Regions from separate parts of the Homo sapiens genome. Here all the other regions are linked to region 2. The links are contacts of gene promoters, found by promoter capture Hi-C in blood cells and fetal thymus (Javierre and others, 2016). All regions are on one chromosome and are shown on one strand. Each heading gives the region's core, a stretch centred on a gene start or on the middle of the fragment in contact. The rest is flanking DNA. Distances are from core to core; before and after follow the strand shown.

Evidence for each region. Contacts are between HindIII fragments. The CHiCAGO score rates a contact against its expected background, and 5 or more counts as called.
Region 1: a contact is called between a fragment that was not itself captured here and the fragment with the promoter of TSG101 in region 2, in 9 of 17 cell types (naive CD4 T cells, total CD4 T cells, naive CD8 T cells and 6 more). The highest score is 16.0, in naive CD4 T cells.
Region 3: a contact is called between a fragment that was not itself captured here and the fragment with the promoter of TSG101 in region 2, in 1 of 17 cell types (total B cells). The highest score is 5.1, in total B cells.
Region 4: a contact is called between a fragment that was not itself captured here and the fragment with the promoter of TSG101 in region 2, in 1 of 17 cell types (naive CD4 T cells). The highest score is 5.1, in naive CD4 T cells.
Region 5: a fragment that was not itself captured here is called in contact with the fragment with the promoter of TSG101 in region 2 in 1 of 17 cell types (total B cells); the score reaches 5.6 in total B cells.
Region 6: a fragment that was not itself captured here is called in contact with the fragment with the promoter of TSG101 in region 2 in 6 of 17 cell types (total B cells, monocytes, naive B cells and 3 more); the score reaches 7.6 in total B cells.
Region 7: a fragment that was not itself captured here is called in contact with the fragment with the promoter of TSG101 in region 2 in 6 of 17 cell types (activated CD4 T cells, naive CD4 T cells, naive CD8 T cells and 3 more); the score reaches 11.1 in activated CD4 T cells.

The regions. Positions count from the first base shown.
Region 1 is chr11:18,717,756-18,720,583 of GRCh38, forward strand. It overlaps IGSF22 (immunoglobulin superfamily member 22), which reads right to left. Exons shown (of 23, transcript NM_173588.4): 5 at 2,431-2,530; 6 at 2,309-2,348; 7 at 1,961-2,138; 8 at 860-973; 9 at 176-338. All of the region lies in intron 2 of IGSF22-AS1 (IGSF22 antisense RNA 1), which reads left to right. Among named protein-coding and RNA genes, the nearest start is that of IGSF22, 7.0 kb to the right of the region's middle. The HindIII fragment of the contact is 1,776 bases long and covers 386-2,161 here.
Region 2 is chr11:18,525,638-18,528,613 of GRCh38, forward strand. TSG101 (tumor susceptibility 101) reads right to left here and starts at 1,305. Exons shown (of 10, transcript NM_006292.4): 1 at 1,138-1,305. The coding sequence starts at 1,179. RefSeq lists an enhancer at 1,465-1,574. The HindIII fragment of the contact is 722 bases long and covers 1,049-1,770 here.
Region 3 is chr11:18,344,046-18,346,868 of GRCh38, forward strand. All of the region lies in intron 7 of GTF2H1 (general transcription factor IIH subunit 1), which reads left to right. Among named protein-coding and RNA genes, the nearest start is that of GTF2H1, 23 kb to the left of the region's middle. The HindIII fragment of the contact is 5,791 bases long and covers 1-2,823 here.
Region 4 is chr11:18,774,528-18,777,535 of GRCh38, forward strand. All of the region lies in intron 1 of PTPN5 (protein tyrosine phosphatase non-receptor type 5), which reads right to left. Among named protein-coding and RNA genes, the nearest start is that of PTPN5, 16 kb to the right of the region's middle. RefSeq lists an enhancer at 1,155-1,449. The HindIII fragment of the contact is 8,027 bases long and covers 1-3,008 here.
Region 5 is chr11:18,301,938-18,304,637 of GRCh38, forward strand. All of the region lies in intron 8 of HPS5 (HPS5 biogenesis of lysosomal organelles complex 2 subunit 2), which reads right to left. Among named protein-coding and RNA genes, the nearest start is that of HPS5, 19 kb to the right of the region's middle. The HindIII fragment of the contact is 3,514 bases long and covers 1-2,700 here.
Region 6 is chr11:18,285,275-18,287,815 of GRCh38, forward strand. HPS5 (HPS5 biogenesis of lysosomal organelles complex 2 subunit 2) reads right to left here. Exons shown (of 23, transcript NM_181507.2): 18 at 2,261-2,416; 19 at 1,317-1,436; 20 at 72-185. Among named protein-coding and RNA genes, the nearest start is that of SAA1, 20 kb to the left of the region's middle. The HindIII fragment of the contact is 1,467 bases long and covers 518-1,984 here.
Region 7 is chr11:18,737,873-18,740,770 of GRCh38, forward strand. PTPN5 (protein tyrosine phosphatase non-receptor type 5) reads right to left here. Exons shown (of 15, transcript NM_006906.2): 8 at 2,731-2,898; 9 at 8-92. It overlaps IGSF22-AS1 (IGSF22 antisense RNA 1), which reads left to right. Exons shown (of 3, transcript NR_186353.1): 3 at 2,552-2,898. Among named protein-coding and RNA genes, the nearest start is that of IGSF22, 13 kb to the left of the region's middle. The HindIII fragment of the contact is 8,092 bases long and covers 1-2,898 here.

The DNA.
Region 1 (2,828 bases), core at 24-2,523, 190 kb after region 2:
GTCCTCTCCCTTACATCTGATGCTTCCTCCCTCCATTGACTCCCATCCCCACACAATCCTTTCTTGCACAGTCCCATAGTCCTCTCTTCAATATCCCCATGGATCCCAACCCTGGCCATTCCTCTCTTCCAACCCGACATGTCCTCCTTGTGCCCTTGCATGCCCCCACTCATACCCAGCACTGTGAGCTCTGCACTCATCCGCTTATCGCCCACGGACAGGCTGTAGATGCCAGCATCGTTCATGTTCACGTTGCTAATAACCAGCATGTACTTGGTGCCCATCTGCTTCACATCGTACTTGCCCAGGGAGTACTGGATCCTCAGTGGCTCAGTACCCTGCCTCATGGAACAGGTAGGAAAGCTGATGAAGGGCTTTAGGAGGAAGCTTCCAGAGGTCTCCATTCCCCAGCGCCAGCCTAAGCTGGAGGGTGCATGTCCAACCCTCTAAAGACAGAGATCCCTATGATCTCTATAGCCTCATCATCTGGTTTGGTGGGATCCAAGATTCCTGCCTCCCCACAGGCCTCCTCACAGGCCCGAGCTCTTAATATGCATGAGTTCATTAGATGCTTTCCCTTAGAGGCACAGATCTTCAGTGACCTTCAAGACTGTCTAATCTAGCCTTTCAATTTAAAGATGGGTAGACTGAGGCATAGAGAGAGGAATGTGACTCTCTTACATCACACAACAAAGGGGTGAAACAGTTAAGAGTAGAGCCCAATTCCAGCCTCTTTCAACCATACCAGGAGGCATCCTCTTGATGGGATGGAAGAGAGGCTATGGCTTATATACAGTGAGAGAAGGGGGTAGAGAGGAAGAGATATTGCCAAGGTGGACCCTGGCTAGGCATCCCCCACCTTGATCCATATCATCTTGACATTGGGGTCTTTCAGTTCCATTATGCAGTCAAAGACCACTGTGGTGTCAACCTTGGTCTCTTTGTCTTCCAGGGGCTTCAGAATCCGGATGGCCTGAGAGATTATGATAATAAAATGACAAGTGTCAGTGGTACCCAAAGCCTGCCCAGACTGTGTCCTCAATCCTGGAGAAACTCTTAAGCATGTGGGGAGAAATGACTAGGCTCATTAGATAACAACGTGCAGTGCTCCAGTGATCAACTGAAAGATTTAGGAGGAGAGGAACATTACGGGGGATGAGTAAAAAACCATCATTCATGGAATAGTCACTATGTACCTGGGCCCATTATATAGATTCCCTAATTCCAGTGTAGAGGCTTAATGAGTTGGTTGAGTGAACCAATGAATGACAGCAACAACACAAAAACAAATGAAAGAAGGAAGTATAATTTTCATTTTGTAGATGAGGAAACTGAAGCTCAGAGAGATGCCCAAGTTCACACAGCTAATAAGGCAGTACAACTGGGATTTGTTTGTTTGTTTGTTTTGAGACGGAGTCTTGCTCTGTCACCCAGGCTGGAGTGCAGTGGCGTGATCTTGGCTCACCGCAACCTCCACCTCCTGGGTTCAAGCAATTCTCCTGTTTCAGCCTCCCAAGTAGCTGGGATTACAGGTGTGTGCCACCACACCCAGCGGTTTTTTTTTGTTTTTTTTTGTTTTTTTTGTATTTTTAGTAGAGACAGGGTTTCATCATGTTGGCCAGGCTGGTCTCAAACTCCTGACCTCAGGTGATCCACCCACCTTGGCCTCCCAGAGTGCTGGGATTACAGGCGTGAGCCACTGCACCCAGCCTAGAACTGGGATTTGAATCTCGGTCTATCTGACTCCAAAGTCCATGCAAGTATGTTTGGGAGTGGTGAAGACAGAAGTAGAAGGAAGGTGACTTGTGCTCCCTTGCTGCTTTCACAGTGGAGAGTACGCCTCTGAGTATGTGTGTGCAGAACTGGGGAGACCTTCTTGCTGAGAAATACACAGGCACTAGCACTTTGGGTGAAGCCCTGCCCCTAGCCTGCAGGCCCCTGCTCCCTGCAGGGTACTTACCTCCACCTCTACTTTCTTCTTCATCTCTTTGAGCTTCCTGAGCAGCCCCCGAAAGTCGGTGAAACCATACTCCATGCACACCTTCTCAAAGTCTTTCTTGGGCACTTTGGACAAAATCTCCAGCATCTCTTTCTCATTTGCCACCTTCTTCTGCTTCTTCTTGGGAGCAGGGGGTGCCCTAGGAGAAGGAGGAAGGGACTAAGCTTGTACACAATGCCTCTCCAACCTTGAGAAACCCCTCCCTACTCCATGGATTCTTGGAACTCAGGGCCTTGTTGAGAGGCCTTTGAGAGGCTTTGGCCTGGATGAGGAGACAATATCTTGGGCAGAAGGACCTGCCAGCCTCACCTCTTCTTCAGCATCTTTTTGAAGTCCATTTTCTCTTGACCTGAGGATAGACAGAGGGACAGGTTCAGACAGGGGGAGTCTGGTCCCTAAGAAGAAAGGCCAAGAGGAAGGGGCCAACTCACCTTCTGTTACCAGCAGAGATACGGTATAGATGGCATCTGCATGGTCATTGCTTGCAATGCACTTATAGTTGTCAGAGTCATCCGAAGTCAGTGGCTCCAGCTGGATCAAAGTCCGGCCATTAGTGGGGGAAGGAAAAGGAACCACAGGGAGACTTTCTGTCAGATAAGGTAGGAGGCCTTTTTTTTTTTTAGGGGACAATAGGAACTGACTGTTGGGTATATGTGTGGAGGATTGAGCAGCCTGTATGATTTGGAGGTACCAGCTAGCAGTCAGTGTGAGTATGCATGTTTGTAGCCTGATTCCATAGCAATAAAACTGTCTGCTTCTCCATCGGACTCTCCCCCTTGGCTGTGAGCTCCCAGAAGGCAGGGCTTCCCCTGCCTTGTAACTCTATCTG
Region 2 (2,976 bases), core at 55-2,554:
AAAGTTACAACATGGATCTTTACCTGGGTCACAATCTTCTATGGCTTCCCATATGTCTTCTATAACTAAGGATAACAAGTTTATCAAAACAAAACCAAGAAGCCTAAAATATACGATTACACAACCAATATATGCTTTATTTTGAAAGCTGTCATTTTCTCCTTAGAGATTATTTGGTCTTCAATCAAGAACTATGGGGGCGATTTAACTGGAAAAAGTCTGTTTTTAAAAAAGTTTTACACATAATAGTGTGTTTTATTAAAAATTGAAACCGCTTAAACCGCTGATTGCTACCATTCTTGCTTTGACAAAACTATCCCAAGCTAACACGTTGAACTGGTCAAGACTCAACTCTCAATCATTTTACATAGTTTTGGAAAATTACAACAAAACATAACAAAAGCCATTCCACTCTGGTGTGAGGTGCCACGTTTGAAGTAATTATATAAATAAATCATGGCTTTAAAATACAAAATGCTTAACTGCTTTTTTAAAAATTGAAAAAAAAAACACTAGTCTTGAGCCGTGAAGATCATAAATTAAGCTCAAAGCAAATAAATACGCGTTATAAGAAGCATACACTTAAAAGTAGTTACTCTTAGAAAATCCCTGAAATGGTAATGGTATGTATTTCACCTGGGGCAGTAAGGGACTGGTATTTTCGCTTCTTTTCTGGAGAATACAAAACTGAAAAGGCCACACTCTCTGCGGGTCGGCAAAAGAAAGGCTAAGACTGGAGGATCCCTAGATTGGGACAGGAGTAGAGGATTGCCTCAGATCTACAACTAAGTATGATCCCTTGTTTGTGTTTATAAAAACAAACGAAAAACTACACTGCCCCACAGACAGCTCCAAACTCAGTGGAAGAGAGGAGGGCGGGTGGGCGGCAGGTGTCAGGTAGCCTCCGCTCCACGCCTTTGTTGACTGTCGCCGTCCCCCACCCTCCCAGCTCCCGTACGGGGATTCCCGCACCAGGCGACAGGCGCCTCGGGGCGGGGTTCTGAGGAGGTCGCTAAGGACTGCACCGGGGCTTCCGGCCCGTCTGGGAAGCTTGCTTGGCTGGGCCGGGACGGACTCGACAGGGCGCGGAAGGGAGCGGTGGGCGCGCCCTGGGAGGCGAGCGCGTCGCAGCCTCACCTTGGACACCATTTTCTTGAGCTGGCTCTCCGACACCGCCATGACGGCCGCCTGGCGACTCCCTTCCCCGCAGGCAGAGGGTCAGCCGCTGCTGGGCTGCCCCAGACCGTCCCACACAATCGCACACCCCCAACCCGGCCTCAAACAACAGGAAGTCGGCACCACTACACCACTTCCGCTTCCACTACGTCACTTCCGGGCCGCCGTCCTGCGGGCAAGGGTGGACACCGTGTGGGATTGAGAGGGGCCTGGTGGGGTGGGTTCCAACCAACCCGCCCCTCGAGTGCCGGAATCAGCAGGACGAATCGGGTCCCAAAGATGTGGGCAAGACTGTTCCGAGGGTCGAAACTCTGGTTCAGGATAAGATTAGCAGGTATTTCACAGAGTCGACTTAAGGAAGCTAGTGCCGGAGAGGGAAGAAGTACGAAGGGCTTGCCAGTGAGCCTTAATGACTGATTGATCAAGTGGGAGGGCACTGCACTGGCGGTCAGAGAACTGTTCTGTCACTGACTTGCTCTTGTGATAATGGTAGGCTAGTGCATTTCTAGCTCAGGCGCAAATTTCTCCCGACTCTAAAGTCATACACTTGCCTTAGATGATGCCCAGTGGTCCTCTAATTAATGATTTTTTTTAAGCTTAAAGACCTTCATACTATACGTTGGCAAGGGTAAAGTGTAGAGCCTTTGTTTCACAAGAAGCCAGATAGTAATTTCTTCTCCAGGAAATCATTCCGTAAGTCAGAATTTCTCCTCTGTACCCACCCATAAATGATAATACAGGCCGTATTTTACCTGGTGCTGTATTTGTGTACCTGTCCGCTGTCAAAATCCAAGCCCTTGAAGGCAGGCTTCCTTCAGATCTTCATTGCCTTGCACAATGCAAGGGTAGGTACTTCCATCTTAATTGAATTTTTACTTCCCATAAAAATTCTTCATGGTGACTTACATTAGTCATCATTACACATCACCGTCAGTTTTGTAAGCACAGTGTCATTCAAGGTATTGTAAAATTTTGAGTTTGATGATGTGTGACAGTTTCAATTATTTTAGTACAGCCCTAATGAGAACAAGGCCGTAGTATTGATTCCCTTCAAAGTTGGCGTCTAAGTGAAGGTCACATTCACAAGGAGGGCCTAACTGAAAGCATGTGGAAGCATCATTATAAACTGTTGCTAACACGCACAAATAAAGGCTATTAATAGGTATTGTTTTTCTTTTTCTTTTTCTTTTTTTTTTTTTTTTGAGTCACTCTCACTCCATCGCCCAGGCTGGAGTGCAGTAGCACCATCTCGGCTCACTGCAACCTCCGCCTCTGTTTTTCAGCTCCTTAGTTAAGCATACAGCTCCAGTCAAACCAAACTAGAGGTCTGTCTGTCCTTCCATTTTACTTGCTGTTTTATGTCTTTTAAAAGCAAGAAGGTTTTCAAACTGTTCTTAAAGCCACGGCTTAACCAGGAGTCCCTTTAATTAGAGCAACTGTACCTTTGTGAGTTGGAGGAATGCCAGGTAATATATATTATTTATATATTTTATAAATGCAACATTTATAAATATTAAAATAAATTTTACATATATATATATATATATATATATATATATATATATTTTTTTTTTTTTTTTTTTTTTTTTTTTTTGAGACAGAGTTTTGCTCTTGCTTCCCAGGCTGGAGTGCGATAGTGTGATCTTGGCTCACTGCAACCTCTGCCTCCCGGGTTCAAGCGATTCTCCTGCCTAAGCCTCCCGAGTAGCTGGGATTACAGGTGCCCACCACCACACCCAGCTAATTTTTTGTATTTTTAGTAGAGACAGGATTTCACTATGTTGGCCAGGCTGGTCTGGA
Region 3 (2,823 bases), core at 278-2,777, 180 kb before region 2:
AACTCCTGGGCTCAAGCTATTTTTCCACCTCGGCCTCCTAAAGTGCTGAGATTACAGGCGTGAACCATTGCAGCCAGCCATGTTTTCCTCCTGTTATGTCCAGCATTCAGTGTATCAACAAGCCTCGTACAATACACCTCTCATCTGTGGGATCTACACAAACGCTTACACCCTTTCATGTTTACGGTATCATCATCTTTGGCCTGTTTGCTTGCCTTAGCCTTCTAACCTTTATTTTTGCTATCTTGTCTTTTATAGTTTATTCTCCCCTAGCAGTAATAATTATAATATAGGCCGGGCGTGGTGGCTCGTGCCTGTGATCGAGCACTTTGGGACGCCAAGGTGGGTGGATCACCTGAGGTCAGGAGTTTGAGACCAGCCTGGCCAACATGGTGAAACCCCATCTCCACTAAAAATACAAAAATTAGCCGGGCCTGGCGGCACATGCCTGTAATTCCAGCTACCCAGGAGGCTGAGGCAGGAGAGTCGCTGGAACCGGGGAGGCAGAGGCTGCAGTGAGCTAAGATTGCACCACTGCACTCCTGCCTGAGTGACAGAGTGAGACTGTCTCAAAAAAAAAAAAAAAAAAAAGGATTATAATATAAATCAGATCCTAATAATCCCCTATGTGAATCTCTTCATTATCTTCTCATTGAGCTTAGAATAAAATCAAAACTCCTACAAGACTGCTAGATTTGGCTCCTGCATACTTCTCAGTTGGGGCCACTTCTACTCATTCATGCTTTAGACATAATGACCATTCACTTCCATGCCACGCTTTTTCTACCTCAGGGCCTATGCACTTAACTGATCTTCTACCTGCTTGTTCCCTAACCAGCTTCTGCCTATCTTTAGATACCTGTTCTAATGTCATTTCTCGCCAGGTGGGGTGGCTCATGCCTTTAATCCTAGCACTTTGGGAGGCTGAGGTGGGAGGATCGTTTGAGTCCATTGTGAGACCACATCTCTAAACTTTTTTTTTTTTTAATTTAAAAATTAGCTGGGCATAGTGGTATACACTTGCAGTCCCAGCTACTCGGGAGGCTAAGGTAGGAGGATCACTTGAGCCCAGGAGGTCAAGGCTGCAGTGAACTGCGATTGCACCACTGCACTCCAGCCTGGGCAACAGAGCGAGAACCTGTCTCAAAAAAAAATAAAAATATAAATTTAAAAATTAAAAATTAAAAAGTTGCGTGCTTCAGAGAGGCTTTCTCTAACCACCCACAAATTCAGTCACTTCATCATGTTACCCTCTGTTTTATTCAATGACATTTTCCACTTTCAAAAAATATTGTGTTTACCTTGTTTTACTTGATAATTGCATTCACACTCCTCTCAGAGTGTAATCTTCATGAAGCTGACTTTGTTCTGTTTATTGGCCTGTTCCTAGCGCATGTCATGTAGTAATAATCACTTAGTAATTATTTGATACATTGATGAACAGCATATGGATCTTTTTTTTTTTTTTTTTGAGATGGAGTCGTGCCCTTTTGCCCAGGCTGGAGTTCAGTGGCGTGATCTCAGCTCACTGCAATCTCTGCCTCCCGAGTTCAAGCACTTCTCCTCCCTCAGCTTCCTGAGTAGGTGGGATCATAGGCACACACCACGCCCAGCTAATTTTTGTATTTTTAGTACAGGGTTTCACCACGACCAGACTGGTCTTGAATTCCCAACCTCAGGTGACCCACCCACCTCAGCCTCCCAAAGTGGTGGGATTACAGGCGTGAGCCACCACACCCAGCACATATGAGTTTTTTTTTTTTTGAGACGGAGTCTTGCTGTCACCCAGGCTAGAGTGCAGTAGCACCATCTCGGCTCACTGCAGGCTCTGCCCCCTGGGGTTCATGCCATTCTCCTGCCTCAGCCTCCTGAGTAGCTGGGACTACAGGCGTCCGCCACCTCGCCCGGCTAATTTTTTGTATTTTTAGTACGGAAAGGATTTCACCGTGTTAGCCAGGATGGCCTCGATCTCCTGACCTCATGATCCACCCGCCTCAGCCTCCCAAAGTGTTGGGATTACAGGCGTAAGCCACCACGCCTGGCCCATATGAGTCTCATGATCTTTCTTTCACCTTTTTAGCCTCACCAATTCCTGGACCACCGTTATTAGTGTATTGAACCATATACAGTCTCATGACACAATATGTACTACATTGCTGCTTTGCTTGTGTTTTGTTTTATTTTTAAATAGAGACAAGGTCTCACTGTGTTGCCAGGCTGGACTTGAACTCTTCGGCTCAACAGTTCTTCTGCCTCAACCTCCCAAATAATCAGGACCACAGTGCCTCTTTGCCTTTGTTTAAGCAGTTTCCTCTCCCTGAAATGTTATTGTCTCCGATCTACTTGGCAAGCACCAGTTTATCTTATGGTTCTCTGTGAACCTTTTTCGAACCCTCTTCTCCAGTAGGATTGATTAGTAATTCTCTCCAGCCCAGCTTCCCACTAACTAGTATTTAAGCTCCTATGGCATGGGGTCTTAATCAATTTTGTATCTACATGGTCTAGCAAGTAGCGTGCACTCAATACATGTTTTAAAATATAATCTCATTTTATTCTCTTTTATCCTACTTTATAGAGCTTGGAAAAGTTTATCTTGCCTAGATTAACGTTAGAAAAAGAATTTGACTCTTTATCTTTCTGAATCCATAGTCAGTGTTTTTCTCACTATATTCTATTCTTTTTATTTACTTTTTTTTTTTTTTTTTTTTTTGAGACAGTCTCACTCTGTCACCCAGGCTGGAGTGCAGTGGTGCAATCTCAGCTCACTGCCACCTCTGCCTCCTGGGTTCAAGTGATTCTCCTGCCTCACTCAGCCTCCCCAAC
Region 4 (3,008 bases), core at 241-2,740, 250 kb after region 2:
GGAGGGGGCTTGAGGAGCCCTCGTCCTGCCAAATTCCTAGATTGGGTGGGATGGGAGCAGGAAAAACACACACAGATTCTTTGCTGGCTTTGGCCACCCTGCTGGGACCAAAGTAGCAGGGGCTAGCTGCATAGGCAGCATTGAGAGAGACCAGGGGCTCATGATTGAAGCCAACACATTCTGTCCTAAATACATCTTTGGGGTGGAGGGTCAGAAATTCACAGTGATTCAGCTCAGACTCTGTGGACCCTCCCAGCCTCTTCTCAGGGCCACTTTGGCTTTCTTTTAAAATCTACACTTTTAAAATTTCATGGTCAGGTTGGTGAGGATGGAAGGGAACAGGAGGAGGTGATCTGAGAGAGAAAGGAAGCAGGAAAAAGGGCAGAAGCAATCTTCGGACCACCTGTTCAGTAACATCTTAGCTCCCGACCGAAGAGGATAACAATGACAGTATCTTCACAACAGAAAGGGCAGCTGTCACTACTGCACCCGGACCACACAGGCCAGGAACTGCTCCAGGGCAGGTGTTAGCAAACTCAGTCCTCACAGCAGCCCCTGGAGGAACGTACTAACGTTTCCTGCATTTTCTAAAGGCGGAAATGGAAATTCAGAGAAGTAAAGTGACCTGCCTAAGGCCACACAGCTAGTTATCACAGAACTTCCCCCATTGCCCACATTCCTAACCTCTCTTTCACTTTTTAGCTTTTGGTAAGAAAAAATATTCCGCAAATACAATAGGAAGAGACAGCATATCATGGCAGTTGCTTTCTATATGTTCTTTTAAAAAATCCTCACCATAAATCTATGTGAGTAGCATGTGATGATCACCATTTTTACAGACGAGAAAACTAAGGCTCAGGGGGTGAAGTGACCCAAGCAAACGAGTGAAGGAGCAAGAGGGAGATCCCTGTGCCTGTGTCCTTGCTTGGGATCACTGCTGTTCTCCCCAGAAGAACGACTGGAAGTCCTGCGCGGGACCACGACCTCGGGTTTCTCCACTTGAAGCAACAGCCCAGGAAGCAGGCCTTGGGAGGCTAGCTTGCATGGGGAGTTTGGGAGGCTGGCTTGGGTGGGGAGCCTGTGTTGGTGGCAGCTGTGTTCCATCAGTGCCATGACGAATACACTCACTGGCCCAGGGCCCAGAAGCCATGGGCTCTAGTCCCAGGCTACTGTGTGACCTTGGGCTAGTCATTTCCCTTATCTGAATCTCAGTAGCTCCAAATGAAAACCAAAGGGCCTGAATGAGATGACCTCTAAGGGCCTTTCCTTAGAGGTCAGGCTTCAATTCCAGGCCTGTCAGGTTTAACGAGGCAGAGGGTGGAACGGCAGTGAACCAGCAGAGGGCGCTCACAGCATCAGGGAAACAGGCCTTGGTCCATGGAGCCCAACCTGCAAGCATGTCCGGCCTGAGCCAATTATTAAGAGAGTCCAGGTTCAGCTGTGATTTGATGCTGTGGATGGTCCTACCTGATTATAAATGGTGCGGCGGTCACGGACCCAAAAGATAGAAAGGCAGGATTTTGGAGTTCAAAGGTTATCCGGTCTGATCCTCTGTTCTCCAAGACTCTGAAAACATTGCATTCTGCTCCCTCTCCCTGCACCTGCCCCCAGGTATGCAGTTTAATTTACCGGGAGAAAACAGGCAATCACAAATGCAAAGGTGTGATCACACTTCTTGTGGGCGTCTTCTGGTATTTCCGTTCAGTTACATGCTTGCTCCTACCTATAATGCTTTAGGATGCACTTTTTCCTCCACTGGAAAGCCCCCTTTTCCCTTCTCTGCTTGGAAAATTCTTATTTGCCTTTTAAGACTCTGTTCAAATGTCACCTCCTCAATAGAACCCTCCCCAACTCCCTTAGGAAGAACTGGGTACTCCGTCTTCTGTTCTTACCCCTCCATACGGTCATTATCTGTTGATGCCAGTCTCCCAGCCTCACACAGAGCTCCCTGGACATAAACCTGTGGTCTGTGATTACCGCAGCTTCCTTTTATTGCAGGCTTATTGTGTGCTGGATGTCGTGCCAAGCACTGCACACGTATGACATCATTCACCTCTCACTAGAACCATATGAGGTAAAAAGTCATCCTCCACCTACACGTGGAGATTGGGACTTGGAGACACTAAGTCACCTGCTCAAGGTCATATAGTTGGTATGTTGCAGAACCAGGCTTCAAACTCAGTTTATCTCAACCCCAGGCTTTATTTAAATCACTAGGTTTACAGCATCTGATATGGACTTTTCTGCTTCCCATGTCCAATACTGTATCTGGCACCAGGCAAATGTTAAAAAAAATGAAAAGTGGGGTAATGTTTGAGCATTTACAAATGGCTCATTAAAAACACCATAAAGGGCCAGGCACGGTGGCTCATGCCTGTAATCCCAGAACTTTGGGAGGCCGAGGTGGGCAGATCACCTGATGTAAGAAGTTTGAGACCAGCCTGACTAACATGGTGAAACCCTGTCTCTACTAAAAATACAAAATTAGCCGGGCGTGGTGGCGGGCGCCTGTAATCCCAGCTACTTGGGAGGCTGAGGCAGGAGAATCACTTGAACCAGAGAGGCGGAAGTTGCAGTGAGCCAAGATTGTGCCACAGCACTCCAGCCTGGGCGACAGAATGAGACTCCATCTCAAAACAAACAAACAAACAAACAACACCATAAAAGTAGTAAACACATAGGCTTTGGCTCTGGACTCCCCCAGTATGAATCAAGGCTCCCCCACTGGCTGCCTGATCTTGGGCAAGATTTTGACTTCTCTGTGCCTCAGTTTCTTCATCTGTGAAGCAAGGATAAATGTGTCTACACTCCAGAGGGTTATAATGGAGATTAAATGAATGTTGATCTTCACACAAAGTTTTTACATGAGATGCATGGAAAATGTGTAGATCAGGGCCAGGAAGCTCCTAAAAATGTTAACTGTCATCATCTTGTGTTTCAGGCTTTGCCTGTTTCCCAGTTAATATAACTTTTCTCCTCCCACGGATAAGGTCCATGAAGACTCTGGG
Region 5 (2,700 bases), core at 83-2,582, 220 kb before region 2:
ACTTCCTCCTCCACTTATCTTCACTAACCTACTCACTATTATCTGGAATCCTAACTATTCCACTTAACTGAATTCTCAAAAAGTCACAGATTCCCAAACTGCCAAACCCAATAACCCTTCATCACTTCCCATTTTCTTAACCCCAAGCAGAAGCCAACCCTGCTAACTGTTCTCTGCTTCTTGAACCTCACCTCCTGGGGCTCCTGGACACTGCATTTTCTTGGTTCTCTTTCTCTCCAGTCCTCTGGTCTGGAGGACTCATTTTTTTCTCCTCATCTTTTTCTATACTTACTCATATAAATTTATCTCATATATTTCATTTATTCTCTCAAGGCTGCTACTATTTTTTATATACCACTGGTAATCTCCACTTCCTAATGCTGTTCAGGACATTCTCCAACTTACAATGTTCTTAATCTAGCCACCTCTCAAGGATCAGAAGTTCTACTTCCCTCTGAAATCCTCCCTTACAGCCCACAACACTCACCCTATTTCTTGCACTCAACCTATTTCTTATACTCTGCTCATATGGCACTTAATCATCTACTGCACTGTCACAACTCTTACTTCTTATTGTTGTTAAACTTTTTGGACAAATAAATCATATCTCTCTAATAAATTATACTCTGAAGAACAGGGACTATATTTCTTTTTCCTTTATGTTTCCAAGAGTACTAAAAATGGTTCCATGTGGCTATGAAACTAATTGATTTTTAACAGGAGTTGGGCCCTCATGTAAGTGTTAAACATTTTGTCAATATGAAAGACCAGATCACTATCCCTACAGGAAAGTAATCTTTGTCATAAAATGCAAGAAATGGTCAGAATCTGAATCCAAAGTAAAATTGAGAAGGCTGCCTTCAAGAGTCAAAGGAGAAAAAAAGCGGGGGGGGGGGGGGTGTCAGAGGATCCCTGAGAAAGAGATACAGGATCATAATTTTGATACTGAACCTGACATTCAGCTTGGAAAATTCCTTAGGAATAGCAACCTAGATTAGATGGGGGGCTGAGGACGGGAACTTAGATAAAAGCTGATACTTGTAATTTATACATTCCTTGTCCCCTTATCCCTTCACTGATAATAAATGGGGACATAAGCCTAACAGCATTGTTTTAGAAGTTCCAGAAAGGAATGTGCCTGAAAGGAAACAAAGTACATAAGGATGCCCCCTCTGGGATTTATGGGTTGCAACAGTAAAAGTCCCATAGGGCACAGTGTACGAATGAAAAACATAAACAAACAGGAATGAAAAGAAGCCCTCCTCTTCATGTTTTCGAAAAAACTCTTTGTTGAATTCACTATCATTTGAGGGTTTTCTATGTGTCTAGCACTGCCCATGAAAAGGAGTTGACAATCTGATGCTGGGATGCATACTCATAATACAGTAAGACAGTGGCAATGATAAAGGAATGAATATGGTTTGACAACAGTACATGCACAGAAATAGGTTGTCTAACGTAAGCCTCTTTGAGGAATCAGCAGAAGTTTCAAAGTGGCGTTAATTGTTGCTTTAGCTGAGGAATAGGCAGAGCCAGATCATCAAAGGCTTTTTGTCTACCATGGTAGGGACTATAACAGCAGCTTTAAATAGCTACAGCCAAAAGAATAACTCTACCAGGAGAGCTAAGTGTATTGTGGCCCGACTACTAGAAAACATATTCTTGGGTACTTTGGGAAGCCGATGCAGGTGGATTGCCTGAGCTCAGGAGTTCGAGACCAGCCTGGGCAACATGGTGAAACCCCATCCCTACTAAAATACAAAAAATTAGCCAGGCGTGGTGGCGTGCGCCTGTGAGTCCCAGCTACTTGGAAGGCTGAGGCAGGAGAATTGCTAGAACCTGGGAGGCAGAGGCTGCAGTGAGCTAAGATCGCACCACTGCACTCCAATGTGGGTGACAGAGCAAGACTCCGTCTCTAAAAAAAAAAAAAAAAACTTGGGTAAGGGACTTCCCAATACCCCGCACATCACATCATAGTCAACAAATATTTATTAAGTATCTATCATGTGCCAGGCATTAGGCCAAGCATTGAAAAAATAATAGTCAACAAAACAGAAATAAAGCCCTCATGGAGCTTACTGTTTAGGGTAAGACATGTATAAATATTATATTAATATGTAATTATAAACTGTGACAAGTGCCACAAAGGAAGAATGCTAAAGGAGGAAGAGTTTTTAATATGCTTTATCTAATTATGGGTAAATAAATAAATGTCTTTCTCTAGTAACTTTCATGAAGAATTATGGAGTTACTAAAGTGTTATAATGTCTATAATTCACTTTTTTTTTTTTTTTTTTGAGACAGAGTCTTGCTCTGTGGCCCAGGCTGGAGTGCAATGGCACGATCTCGGCTCACTGCAACCTCTACCTTCCAGGTTCAAGCGATTCTCCTGCCTCAGCCTCCCTACTAGCTGGGATTACAGGAGCATGCCACTATGCCTGGCTAATTTTTGTATTTTTAGTAGAGACGGGGTTTCTCCATGTTGATAGGCTAGTCTTGAACTCCCGACCTCAGAAGATCTGTCCGCCTCGGTCTCCCAAATTGCTGGGATTACAGGCATGAGCCACACCCGGCCTTATAATTCACTTTTAAATACTTCAGTGTAGGAAGTATGACAAATACATGAACTGGTTTTTATCCTTACCCTTAGAGGCAATTAGTTAACACTTCAATTATTTTTAAAAATCACAAAGAGTGGTT
Region 6 (2,541 bases), core at 1-2,500, 240 kb before region 2:
CCCTTAACTATAAAGTTGTTAACTGAAATGTTTCTAACCTTAACTTCAGTTTCTAAAAAATTCTCACTTACCCACAAGACCTGCAGATGTCTGTCATTTTCTCTTTGGTTATAAAATCTGCAGGAAGTTTAATTAGATGAAGGATCAGCTGACTGTAACCCCAGGAAAGCAAGTGTGAATGAGGCCTATGAAATGAAAAGGAATCAGTAAATTAGATAGGAAATAAACTCTAGAAAATGCTTATTTATCACCTAATAGGTAAGAATAGAGTTTAACTGCATTCTATTACTACATTTTAAAAACATTGCTATTTGGCTTTTGAAAACTTAAAAATAGCTATTTTTCCTATAACCTGTTTATTTTTAAAGATTAGATACTTTAGGTAATCAAAAGCAAAAGAAATAAATTCTTTTTTCTTCTTTTAATTCTATCATTCCATCACTCACAGATAACCACTGCATATCCTTCCAGACTTTTTGCTAGGAATATAAGACAGGCATTTGGGGGTCTTTTAAGAAGCTTCTCCTGGGAGGAAACGCAAGCAATAGTTCTGACACAAGTACCAGTGTGTACTTTAATTTTATTTTATTTTTAAAGTCCTAGATCAGGTTATGTCTAAAAATTCCTTGACACATTTTTAGGAAGAAAACACATACATACCTATCTCCCTAACCCCCACACCCAGTTTTATCCTCTCACAGGCTTAATCACCAAGGTCTCTTAATGTGGGCCCATGAAAAACCTGCAGGCGGTCAGCTGTGCAAAGTTTTGCATGACTGCATTTTTCTAAAAGGAATCATCAGATTCTTATAGGGTGACCCCAAAAAATTTCAGAACCACTAAGAAATATACTTAATCTCATTACTACCATGACTTGGGTCAGTCTCTTCCATAGCTATTTCTAAAGTGAGCCCAGAATGCCATATGTGAATAAACCAGTTCCATTCCAAAGGAACACTGGAGCTTAATCCTTAGAAATAAGACTCCTAGCCAGGCACAGTGGCTCACGCCTCTAATCCCAGCACTTTGTGAGGCCAAGGCAGGTAGATCGCTTGAGCCCAGGAGATCGAGACCAGCCTGGGCCATAAGGCGAAATCTCATCTGTACAAAAAATTAGCCGGGCAGAGTGGTGTGCTCCTGTCTTCCCAGCTACTCAGGAAGCTAAGGTTGAAGGGTTTAATCACCTGAGCCTAGGAGGTCAAGGCTGCAGGAAGCCATGATCTTAGCACCACATTCCAGCCTAGGCGACAGAGTGAGATCCTGTCTCAAAAAAAAAAAGTAAAGAAAAAAACAAAGAAAGAGGACTTCTTCTGTACCTGGGATAACCTTCATCATCCATTGTGCTGGTGCTTGGTGGAGCATCAAGGGACACTGCCAAAAGCAGCCAATCCAACCTTAAAGACTCTGGTTGCAGAAGGGACTCAAGAAAAGATGACCTAAGAGAAAGTTGGGGAAAAAAGTCACCAATCTTCATGCTAAGAAAGGAAGCATAAAATGTGGGGAGTGTGAAGAAAACCTGATTAAGAGATGAATATAGAAGAAGAAATAACTTGAAAACTCTTCTGCTACAAAATGTCTAGAAATGCTGGTGACCAAGCTCCAAGATAACAAAGAAAATGTCAAAGGGCCAAAAAAGAAAAAAAAAAAGGGAGAGAAAGAGAGAGAGAAAGAAAGAGACAAATAAAAACCAGTGTGGCCAGAGTAGGAAGATCACTGAGGCCATAAGTTTGAGGCTGTAGTATGCTATGATCATACCCGTGAATAGCCACTGCATCCAGCCTGGGCAACATTGTGGCAAATGTGAACCAATCAAAAGAAGAAAGGAGGAAGCCGCTAGTCTAATAAGCCAGGGGCACAGGTCACAAGTGTTACAACCATGGGGAGACAGAAAATCAGACATCAGCCTAAAAAGAGAAGAGCTGGAACTGAGATCTATGTCAATAAAAAGGTGGCAGTGAATCTACTCACTGCAAAGACAATAAGAAGCTTATCTTCTTAGTTCAGGCCCTGAATCAAGGGATTAATTTTGCACTGATCTGAGAATCCCTGAGAGGCAGTGAAGAAGTGTGGTACATGCACATTTGTGATGTGTGCTGTGACATGTGGCAGAATGTTACAAGGCCTCCCAAATCCTCCTCTTCCATAGTATGTGCCTCAACCCCTTGGTAATTAACAGTACACAATGTGACACCTGCTTATAAAAGAGAAACAATGCCCTGTCAAAAGAAAGGAGAGTCTGCAAATATGCTCTCCTTCTCACCGCTGATCTTCAGGCCTTGATTTCACCAGACTGTCTAAATAGGCCAAAAACTCAGCAGGATGATGATGACAAAGTTGTATGATATCCGATGGCAAAATGGATGGAAAGAACTTGATTAAGGATCGAAGAGCAGACTCCCCAAACTTTTCATACAACCTGCATTTAAAAACAAAACACTTTAGTCTCTAATTTCAGTGAAATTATATAACTTGGTTACATTTAGGTTACTTATTACAAATGAAAATAAATATACTAACAGAAGCTGCCTCATATGCAAATGA
Region 7 (2,898 bases), core at 143-2,642, 210 kb after region 2:
TACTCACTGGGAAGTATGGTTTTGTACCGGTTCTTCCGCACCAGCCCAGGGATGTCGTACTCTTTCGGATCCACAAAGTTCATGGGGATTTCCTGTGGAAGGAGGACACGGGGTGTGAGCAGCTATGGGCCCTCACAGATGTTTGAATCCAGGGGCTGCTGTGCCCCCAACTCCTAGCCCAGGGGCTGGCTTGAGTGCACGCATTCATTCAACAAACATTTACTATTAAGAGAGTTAGTGCTCACGACGCATTCAGAACAGTGCCTGGCACATGCTGAGTGTGTAATAAATATGATAATGACTATTGTTTATGGAGAGCCAGCCTGCCATATATAGACAGTCAATAAATAGCTGATGAATGAAGAAAAAGACAAAAAGTGACCTGGCCAATGGCTGCCTTCTTCCATGCTCCCTGGGCAGCATTCCTCCCTGGGCATCCCTATCTCGGGACCTAGGTTCGTGCTGCTTGCTCTGTGGTAACACACACCCCATCCTCATCTCATGTCCCGCCTCCTCTGAGAAGCCTTCCCTGATTCTCCAGAAGGAGAGAAGCCTCTTTCTGAGATCCCAGGAATATCTGCACCTCCCAACCACTGTCTGTGTCCAGAGCTCTGAGTCTGAACTTCTCTCCTGGCATGTGAGGGCTTCTTGAATCTGGCCTCTCTTTACTTCCAGTTAGGCCTGTTTCTCCCCTGTTGTTAATCTGCTGTTCTCAGTCCTGCCTCTGAGTCTGAGCTTGTGACGTTCTGCCTCCTGAGGGCGCTGGTCTCCCCTACCCCCATCTCTCCAAGTTGTTCCCACCCTTTAAAGTTCACCTCTGCCCGGGCGCGGTGGCTCACGCCTGTAATCTCAGCACTTTGGGAGGCCGAGGCAGGCGGATCACAAAGTCAGGAGTTTGAGACCACCCTGGCCAACATGTTGAAACCCCATCTCTAATAAGAATACAAAAATTAGCTGGACCTGGTGGCGGGCCCCTGTAATCCCAGCCACTAGGGAGGCTGAGGCAGGAGAATCGCTTGGAACTGGAAGGCGGAGGTTGCAGTGAGACAAGATCGCACCACTGCACTCCAGCCTGGGCAACAAGAGTGAAACCCTGTCTCAAAAAAAAAAAAAAAAAAAAAGTTCACCTATGAGTCTGTCTCCTCCTGACATCTTCCGGGATGACTCTCCATGCCTCTTGCCTCTGCATTTCCTTCCAGTCTGTCCACCAGCTTAGCCCCTGACTGCACCTAACTTCACACTGTTCATTGTTTTTGGACACACTAAGTATGGGCTTTGTAAAATGAGGATCATCACACTTTCCAGGATTGTGAAAATCAAAATAAAAATACAACACGTGCAAAACTGCCCCCAGAGTGGGTGCTCAGGCCACGCTCCTTCCTCAACAAAGACCCACCGGACAGGAAATGAGGTAGAGGATGTGATTCTTTCTCGAAGGGGAGATGATGGCAGTGGGAGCTCAGAGAAGGAGCTGAGGCTGGGGTGGTTAAAGAAGGCTTTCTAGAGGCATCTGGAGTGAGTGATGATGTGAGCAAAGGCACAGGAGGAGAAAGGCACGGACGAGACTGGCCCAGTTTGAAGTGGACAGTCCCTGCAGGGGTGGGGCATGGGGCATAAGGCTGGAAAAGGAGGCTGGGGCCACACGAGGTAAGGGGTGCTGATGGTGTATGCAGGTGGTACCAAGTTCTGGAGAACTTGGAGCAGCAGATCAGATGATGATGGAGGTCTTCTCACAGGGGAGAGCTACCCGGTCCAGACAGGCCCAGGGCGGAGGCCAAAGGAAGGGAGCTATGAGGGAGGAGGCACCTGCTTCTGTACCCCTGTGGCTTCTACCAGGAGGAACTCACCCCAGATACTCTTGGCCTCTTGCCTTTTCCTGCTCACAGAAGTGAGGAGTTACCTGTTTGGTGAATTTGGTTGAGGAATGGAGCTTTGGAGCCTCAGCCCCTTCCTTCCTCCTCCTCTCAGGGCCCTCCTGCCAGGAAAGAATTATAGGGGTGCCCCCATGCGGCAAGGTCCGAGATGTGCCGGCACCCCTGTGGAGGGTGGAAAGTGCATGTAATTCTGGGTCTCAGTATCGGGAGGCTCACTCTTGCTGTACCCTGCTAAGCCACATTTCCAACCTGTATTTTATTGACAACAAAGGTGATATTGTAATCTCCTATGCCTTAGCTCTTAACTGGCTGAGCACTCAGGCAGGTAAACAGGGGTGCCATTTATTGAGCCCCTCAAAGTCCAATAGGAGGCAGCTGGAGGCTGCTGCAGAAGCCAGGGTGGAGGTGATTAGGACCTAAGCTAGGGCCCCAGGGGTGGTAACGAGGGGAGGCCACTAGAGAGATTTCAAAGGCAGAAGAACAATGCTCGGCAGGAGGAAAGTGGGAAAACAGAAGAGTTAGAAGTGAAGGTTCTCTGTGGCTTTCAGAGCACAGCACTGGGCAATAAAGACTTAGCATTGTCACTGTACCTCCATCACCTGGCTGGGTGCTCTGCACATGTTATAAGTCTCTTTAATCTTTGCAACAATTCTATTATTTTCATCCCCATTTTCCAGATGAGGAAACTGAAGCTCAGAGGGAAAGCAGCTTGCCCAAGATGGTGGGAGAGCTGATAATAAAGTGATACTAATCTACTGCAGATGCTGAGTTCCAGGCACCACGCTCCACCACCTGGGCAGGTGGATGATTGACATGGGTCTGCACACAGTGGGGCGACCGGCTCAAGGGAACTCACAAAGAATTCCGCCTGCAGCAGGAAAGGGTCCAGGGCCTTTTCATGAAGCTCTTCTGCTTGGAGGACACGGGAGGCGCTGAGCAGGTACTCGCGGGCGGACTCCTCACGTGGGGACATGAGATAGCCAAAGCCCTCCTCGTTGCAGCCCGGAGTGCACATGTCCAGGGT